Regions from separate parts of the Homo sapiens genome. Here all the other regions are linked to region 1. Evidence: promoter capture Hi-C in 16 types of primary human blood cells and fetal thymus (Javierre and others, 2016). All regions are on one chromosome and are shown on one strand. Each heading gives the region's core, a stretch centred on a gene start or on the middle of the fragment in contact. The rest is flanking DNA. Distances are from core to core; before and after follow the strand shown. Region 1 holds the start of RREB1 (ras responsive element binding protein 1). Region 2 has its middle 30 kb from the start of LINC03055. Region 3 overlaps LOC105374903 (a long non-coding RNA gene).

Region 1 (2,792 bases), core at 181-2,680:
TCAACAACCACAATCATCCTTATCTTTCTGAAGATGTTTCCAAAGGCTGAGAACAGACCCCTTTCAGAACCTCGGTAGGAGAAGTATTAACAGTTGGAAACATGTCAGCTGCTTTATGGAGGAAGCACAGCCCAGGCCTGGTTTCTCTGGGCTCCGTGATAACTTGGGGCAAGGCAGCCAGTGCGAAGCGTGGTGGCAGGAGCTGGAGAGATGGAGAGCGGCTCGGAGAAGGGCCCCTGCTTTTCAGAGTTGAAACAGGAGCCCTCTGAGAGAAAGAGATACTGCGTGTGGCTTCTCTGAAGCCTTGGAGGGCGACGTGGATGACACAGCATCAGCCATTCCATCGCGGGGTGGGGACACAGTGGCGGCAGGAACCGTCCTCAGCCCCTGGCGGCCACGGCAGTTCCCCGCTGAAGCATCCTTTGTGGGGTGTGGGTAAGGGAGGGGGACCAAAGTCGGGTCGGAGTTGAGTTTGTTAGACGGCGAGCACACTCAGGGCGGCAGCCCGAGTAAGAAGGATGGCCCCGGGAGAGAAACGGCTCGAAGCTAGGGGCGGGGTGAAGCGCCTGCTCCTTAATCTCCTGCCCCATCATCCACTCGCCCCACCTGGATGCAGAGCGAGGACCGCGTGGAAAGGAAACGGCGCGGGCGGGGCTCCCCCTCGCAGATGCCTCGGAGACCCAGAGGGGCGGCGTCAGGCCAGGGCCCCGAGCCCTACGCCCCCCATCCCCCCAACTCCAGCGCCTCTGAGGTGCCCCTCTCGCAATTCCGAGGCATCACCGTGTCTCCCCCGCCTCCGTTAAAATAGTGAAACTGCGGAGTGAAGTGATGGAAAGCCGGGGGCGGGGAGTCGCCCGCGGCGAGGGGCTGCAGGGGAGGGGGCGCGGTGGCCGAATAAGGTGGCCCGCGAGCAACGGGACGATTGGGATCGCAGCCAGTCGCGGCCTCCCGGACCCTTCCCCTCGGGCAGCCCGGCCCTCCCATGGCCCGGGGCGCCTTGGGAGGGCGTAGGGCAAACCTGGGGCTGCGGTGGGGGGTGGGGAGGGGACTCCACCTCCATCCATCCCGGGATGGCAACTGCGGTCACCCTGCTAAAGTCGGGGCGGGGGCGGCGGTCCTCCCCCTCACCCCCCCCAGTCCGAGCGCCGCCGCCGCCGCCGCCGCCGCCGCCGCGGCCGCTCAGTAACACGTCCCCAGGAGACTCGCAGGAGCAACACGTGATGTGTCTACTTATCAGGGTGAGAGGGGGAGAGCGAGACTCCGAGCGTGCGGGCGAGGAAGCTGGGCGGGGGGCCGAGACGGGGGCCGGGACGACGGCTGGGGCGCCGGGGTCGCCAGCTCCTCGCCCACCTCCCTCCCTGTGGGAGAAGAGGAGGAGGGGAAGTGACTGCGGAGTTGATGAACTTTGCACATCCAGAAACGCCATTTTGATTCCTTTTCCGGAACAAGTTTGCATCTCTCCTCGGTCTCTCCCTGAAGCCCACCGGTCCCCAACGCATCATGCCAGGGAGCCAAGCGTCCTGCCCGGCCGTAAGTACGTGCCCCGGATTCCGACTCGCGGTACGCCGGCGGCAGCGAGAAGTCTGGGGCACAGCCGGAGCGACCTTTTAAAGAACTTTGGGGATGGGGAGGGTGAAGTCTGCAGAGCGCGTTGTACTTTTGAAACTCGGTGTGTCCCGGAGCCGGGGACCCGCACGCCCCACTCCGCGCAGCGTGCGCTCGGGCCGGCGGGGCGGCCAGGGATGAGCGGGGCAGCCCTCTCCCCTCGGGCTGCGCGCCGGGCCATTCCTCCTCCTCCTCCTCCTCCTCCCCTTCCTCCGCTCTTTTCCCTTTCCCGAGCCGCCGGCTCTGCCAACCAGCTCCCAGCGCGAGCCGCCGCAGCGCCCCGCCAGCAGGACCTGATGCGCATCCATATTAGCCGTCCGAGCGCAGGAATCCGGCCCGACCCGCGCCGCCGAGTTTATTTTTAACCAGCACCGCCGGGACTCGGATGGTGCGCGCACCGCCGGCCAGAAACATCTTCCCAGCGCTGCTCTCCATCTTCCGCCCTCTCTCCCTCGACATCCTCCCCCCCATGTGGGAGGGGAAACTTTTCTCCTACATACTTTCGAGTCCTTCTCGGGCCGGGAAGCGCGGAGATGACGGCGCCCGCCCTCCCGCCGCCGCCCTAAGGTATCCGGGGGTGCCTGCCCGGGGTGCTCGCGCGGGGGTGCCTGCTCGGGGCTGCTCGGTGGGAGCATCCGCCGCGCCCTGCTCTGCGGACTTTGAACCTCCCGGGCGGACGGCGCCGGCCGGGAGGGGGCCGCGGGCAGCCCCGCGCCCTCGCGGGTTCCCGGCTGGCGGTCGTGGTCACGCCGACCACCGCCCCGGGGGGCCTGGGGAGGAGGGGACCGGGCCCTAGCCGTGCGGGCACGTATTGTTCCCTCGCCCTTCCGTTGGCGGGGTGAGTGTTTTCGTGGGAGCCCTCGGTGTGGAGCTAGCCTGCCTCGCGGGCGGGGGGGGTGGGGGGCTCGGCGCCGTCACGAGCACAGGAAGGAGGCCGGGAGCATCCGAGGCGGGGCCGGCCGCCGGGGCCCGCTCCGCCGCCCAGCTGTGGAGCGCGCTCGGAAACTTTTGTCCGCCGCCCGCTGGACCAGTTTTTCACGAGTTCTGGGGCTTCCCTTCCTCCTCCCATCCCGGCCCCCGGCGTCTAGCTGGGTGGGGGGAGGGGGCCTGTTGCTGCCCCCCCCGCCCCCAACTTCCCGCACAAGCCTTGGGCCGGGCCCCCCGCGCCCCCTCCCCGCTCGCGGTCT
Region 2 (2,792 bases), core at 149-2,648, 250 kb before region 1:
CGTCTCAAAAAAAAAAAGAAGAAGAAAAAAATAAAATAAATCCCTGTCTTCATGGACTATCCATTCCAGTGAGAAGAGGTGGACATAGACAGTATTTTTAATTTCTATCCCTTAGATAAAGAACTGCCCAAGGTGAAAGCTAATGAGGACAGAGCTGGAATTAGAGCCCAGGGCTAACTGACTAACATAGAGGTGTTTCCAAAAGATGATTTTGCCTCTGTACAGAAGAGCATGTTGTTTTCTTGGATCTTTCTCCTTCAATTCAAAATCTTGATCTGTCAGGAGAGCTGGGCCAACCCATCAGGTTGCAGGCAGGTGTCCATGGTGATGAAGGGATGGAAAAACTCACTCCTGACCTCCCTCTCAGGTTTTGGCCTCTCAGGCACCAAATTCCTAAGCACAGAACTGGGAAGTAAGATCCTCGGCGGCCCTTCCTACGGGACAGTCCTGCAGGTCCATCAGAGTATTTGATTGTTTAAACGAACATCTGTCTGGGGCAGAAACTGCAAATAGGATAGGAGAAGTTTGTTTGAATTTCCCTTTGGGACCTCAAAGCAGCAGGTGGAGAGAAGGAACTTTTAAAATTTCCATGTCAGCAGTGAGGAAAAGTGGAAGGAAGGAAGAGAAAAACAAAAGGAGGTCTCACAAAAGCATGTCAGAGTCAAAATCAGAAATAGATGTGAGAGTCTCTGGAATCATGTCCTTAGTTCTGGCTTCAAACAGAGACCCTTCCTCTCTCTGCAGACCACTCTCCAGGAAAGTCAGCATAATAGGGTAGGTACATATAAACATTTTACTCCATAAGAATTCTTCTGTCAAAAAGACTTTCATCTTTGCATTTTGATTTTAGGGTTAAGAAGTCTGATGCTTTATTAAACTGGAAAACTCACCTGCCCAAAACCATTGCTTTCTTCAATGGTTCTGCACTACTGAAATCACTCAGTACTTTCTGACAAACAACTTAAAATGAACCCATCCTATACTACTGTCTGACCTTTAAAGAATGTGTAGAAACCTTTTAAAGTAGTATCTGAGCTGGGCGCGGTGGCTCATGCCTGTAATCCCAACACTTTGGAAGGCTGAGGGGGGCTGATCACCTGAGGTCAGGAGTTCGAGACCAGCCTGGCCAACAAGGCGAAACCTGTCTCTACTAAAAATACAAAAAATTAACCAGGCTTGGTAGCACAGACCTGTAATCCCAGCTACTGGGGAGGCTGAGGCACAGGAGAATCACTTGAACCCAGCAAGCGGAGGTTGCAGTGAGCCGCGATCATGCCACTGCACTCCAGCCTGATCAAGAGTGAGACTCTGTCTCAAAAAAAAAAAATAGTATCTGTACTGTAAGAAAATTACCAATGAATGTTTATTACTCCCAGGCTAATATTCAATAGCAACTTTTCCCTAAATCTATTTTCTGACGTCCTGAAGGACTTCTACTAGAGCCAGGAAGTATCATTAGATTTCCATCATTGACACCCTAACAAATCTTAGAGACTAAGGAGTCACATTTGCAGCCTGCTGGCCATCTCAAAAGCCTGTGCCTCTACTGAGGGAGTGGGAGAAAAAAGACCTCAGGACCAGAATTTAGTGAGATATTCTATAAACTCCAAATCCAACCATTTTCCATCCATTCATTCAACATATATTTATTGAGCTCCTCATGAGTGCCAGCCACCATCTAGGCATTGGAGATAGAGTGGTGAACAAGCCAACTAAGTCTCTGCTTCCATGGAACTTGTACGTTCTAGGGAAGGAGAGAAATCAGTAAACAAATGCATGTGTAAGACAATAGTCATCGAAGAGAATTTTAGGCAGGGATAAATACTACTAAGAAAACTAAGGCAGGCCAGTCATGGTGGTTCACACATGTAATCCCAGCACTTTGGCAGATCACTTGGCCCAGAAGTTCAAGACCAGCCTGGGCAACATAGTGAAACTCCGTCTCTACAAAAAAAATACAAAAATTAGCAAGTCTGGCTGGGTGCAGTGGCTCATGCCTGTAATCCTAGCACTTTGGGAGGCTGAGGTGGGTGGATCACCTGAGGTCAGGAGTTCAAGACCAGCCTGGCCAACATGGCAAAACCCCATCTCTACTAAAAATACAAAAATTAGCCGGGCATAGTGGCATGCGCCTGTAATCCCAGCTACTTGGGAGACTGAGGCAGGAGAATCGCTTGAACCCAGGAGGTGGAGGTTGCGGTGAGTGGAGATTGCACCACTACACTCCAGCCTGGGCAACAGAGTGAGACTCAGTCTCAAACAAAAACAAAAGCAAAAACAAAAACAAAAATTAGCCGGGCGTAGTGGCACGTGCCTATAGTCCCAGATACTCGGGAGGCTCAGATGGGAGAATCACTTGAACCCAGGGAGCAACAGAGTGAGACCCTTTCTCAAAAACGCAAACAACAACAACAAAAATTAGCCAGGTTTGGTGGCTTACACCTGTGGTCCCAGCTACCTGGGAGGCTGAGATGGGAGGATCAAGGATCAAGGAGGTTGAGGCTGCAGTGAGCCATGATTGCACTATTGAACTCCAGCCTGGGCAACAGAGCAAGACCTTGTCAAAAAGAAAAGGAAGAACGAAGGAAGAAACTAAGGCAGAATGGGAGATAGTGATGATGGGTGGGTGGGGTTGCATTCCACAGAGCTGTCAGATAATGGGAGGAAGGAGCTAGACATGGAGGGTCTGGGAAAAGCATCCCAGGATGAGGAACCAACAGAGATCCTGTGTCGCAGGACCAGGTTTGGAGGCTGCTGGCACCATGAGGACGTGAGGGCTGTAAGCTGGCAGA
Region 3 (2,792 bases), core at 185-2,684, 230 kb before region 1:
GTTCGAGACCAGACTGGCCAACATGGTGAAACCCTGTCTCTACCAATAATACAAAAATTAGCTGAGTGTGGTGGTGCACTTCTGTAATCCTAGCTACTTGGGAGGCTGAGTCAGGAGAATGGCTTGAACCTGGGAAGCAGAGGTTGCAGTGAGCCAAGATTGCACCACTGCACTCCAGCCTGGCAACACAGCAAGACTCCATCTCAAAAAAAAAAAAAAAAAAGAGAGAGAGAGAGAGAAAGAAAGGAAAGAAAGAAAGAGGTGTAACCATCTTTTCCTTTTTTTTTTTTTAATTTTAAAACTTTTTTTTAAATAGAGACAAGGTCTCGCTATGTTGCCTAGGCTATCTTTGAACTCTTGGCCTCAAGGAATCCTCCCTCCTCAGCCTCACAAAATGCTGGGATTACAGGAATGAGCTACTGTGCCTGGCCTTTATCATTATTATATTATTATGATAGTTTTTTTAAATCTTTTCCCTCTTAAACTTGAATTCTCCCAGCTCATAATAAGAGAAGGTAAATGAGAACACCTCCCAAAAATATGCTACCCTTCTGAGATATAAAAATAACTAAGATTTACCAGCCTGAGGAAGGAAGAGGGGAAGAAAGCTATAACTGACCTGTGGAGGTCAAGGGCGCTGGTGATGGGACCAGCCTCCTCAGTCTACAGTGAAATCACACAGGCACTTAAGTGACTCATAAGGAAGCATCTCTGAACTGTAGTCTGGTAGACTCTGAAATGAGGCAACAAGTGGTATTATTGGAATCCTTCTCTTGCTCGTTAAAACTCTGATGAATTCTCAGCTGTCTTTAAGGGTTTGGATTTCATTCATAGTGCACGAGAGAGTGAACTGGAAGAACTCTAGAGGACTCTTCAAGTCCTTCACTTCCATGAAATAGAAAAGGCCTTTTGCTGTGTGTTTGTGCAGGACTCCCACGTGCCTGGCACACTCCTGGGCCCTCGGGGGAAATAGGAAAGAAGGATATGACAAAGTACCTGCCCTCAAAGAGCTTACAATCTATAGAAAGCAATTTCTATGGCCCCTCAGTACACAAGCCCCAGGGAAGTTTCTGGGAGCTGCTGAACAGTTTTCTCCAATTCTGCTGCATATAGGTGAGTTGTGATCATGGGTGAGGCTCTCCCCTTAATTAAGAAATGCCAGCCAAGGCCAGGAACAGTGGCTCACGCCTGTAATCCCAGCACTCTGGGAGTCCAAGGCAGAAGGATCGCTTGAGGCTGGCCTGGGCAACATAATCAGTCCTCATCTCTATTAAAAGAAAAGTCCCGAGGATATATGTAAATTTTAAGAACTTTTTTTATCTTAAAAAGGGAAAATGAGAAAAAGAAAAAAAAAAGAGAGAAATGCCTTCCCTCTTCATGATTCTTCTTTACTCTTATAATCTTCCAACTCACTGGGCACCCCCTAACTTTGGGTTCTTGAAGACTTTCCGGGAGGCACAGCTTGGCTAGTCTTAAGAGAATCAACTTGCAGATTCTCATCTTCCACGTGCACTCTTTCTTAAGGCGGTTGGACTGAGAAGGTGCCCCAGAGTTCCTTCATGATAGCCTGTCTCCCACTTTAGACAAGAGAGGCCCCCTTTCTGCTCTCCCATGTCTGATTCCAATTCATCATTCCATGATGGGGAAACTCCAGGGCAGCAAACAAAAGGGAAGCCCCCTTTGATGATAACAGCGCCATCAACTCAGAGTGTTCTGGAGATTTCCCTGGCATTATATATTTGCTTGTTTATTTGTTAAAGGAACACCCATTATTAAAATTTGGGTATTTGGGAATAGTCTAAATTCAGTTATATGGTAGAGGGAAGTGAAAAACAGCTTTTCATCCACAAAGTCACCTCTTATTCTTCCTAATTGCGTGTGTGTGTGTGTGTCTGTGTGTGTTTGTGTGATACAGACAGAGACAGAGAGAGAGAAAGGAAGGGAGGAAGAAAGAAAACTTATCACTCACTAGGGTTAGTATTATGATAGCAAATTAAGGGAAACTTTTGTAAGAATTATTGAATGCTAAAAAAGACTCTTTCCTCACTTTTTTAAATATAAAAAATTCTTTGCAGCTCTTCTTAAAACTCATCCTTAGGAGGTGTCATTAGCTGCAAAGAAAAGCACATTCAAATAAAGCCTGATATTTACTAATGCTGGTCATTTTTACCATAACTCAATTTTTTTCACAACTTCTAAAATTTTCAAGATACATTAGCTAAAGCCCCAGATTAAAGATTCATGTGATTTCTTGAAAAAATGCTCATCATCACTGGTTATCAGAGAAATGCAAATCAAAACCACAATGAGATACCATCTCACACCAGTTAGAATGGCGATCATTAAAAAGTCAGGAAACAACAGATGCTGGAGAGGATGTGGAGAAAAAGGAACACTTTTACATTGTTGGTGGGAGTGTAAATTAATTCAACCATTGTGGAAGACAGTGTGGTGATTTCTCAAGGATCTAGAACTAGAAACACCATTTGACCCAGCGATCCCATTAGTGGGTATATACCCAAAGGATTATAAATCATGCTGCTATAAAGACACATGCACACGTATGTTTATTGCAGCACTATTCACAATAGCAAAGACTTGGAACCAACCCAAATGTCCATCAATGATAGATTGGATAAAGAAAATGTGGCACATATACACCACGGAATACTATGCAGCCATAAAAAAGGATGAGTTCATGTCCTTTGCAGGAACATGGATGAAGCTGGAAACCATCATTCTGAGCAAACTATCACAAGGACAGGAAACCAAACACTGCATGTTCTCACTCA

The links. The method cuts DNA at HindIII sites, captures the fragments that hold promoters and counts their contacts. A CHiCAGO score of 5 or more calls a contact.
Region 2: a fragment that was not itself captured here is called in contact with the fragment with the promoter of RREB1 in region 1 in 1 of 17 cell types (M2 macrophages); the score reaches 5.5 in M2 macrophages.
Region 3: a contact is called between a fragment that was not itself captured here and the fragment with the promoter of RREB1 in region 1, in 1 of 17 cell types (M0 macrophages). The highest score is 5.1, in M0 macrophages.

What each region holds. Positions count from the first base shown.
Region 1 is chr6:7,106,531-7,109,322 of GRCh38, forward strand. It overlaps RREB1 (ras responsive element binding protein 1), which reads left to right and starts at 1,431. Exons shown (of 13, transcript NM_001003699.4): 1 at 1,431-1,530. RefSeq lists an enhancer at 240-299 and silencers at 650-1,129, 1,190-1,409, 2,200-2,689, 2,710-2,792. The HindIII fragment of the contact is 7,744 bases long and covers 1-2,792 here.
Region 2 is chr6:6,853,818-6,856,609 of GRCh38, forward strand. No RefSeq gene overlaps it. Among named protein-coding and RNA genes, the nearest start is that of LINC03055, 30 kb to the right of the region's middle. The HindIII fragment of the contact is 4,005 bases long and covers 1-2,792 here.
Region 3 is chr6:6,875,303-6,878,094 of GRCh38, forward strand. All of the region lies in intron 1 of LOC105374903 (a long non-coding RNA gene), which reads right to left. Among named protein-coding and RNA genes, the nearest start is that of LINC03055, 9.0 kb to the right of the region's middle. The HindIII fragment of the contact is 4,195 bases long and covers 1-2,792 here.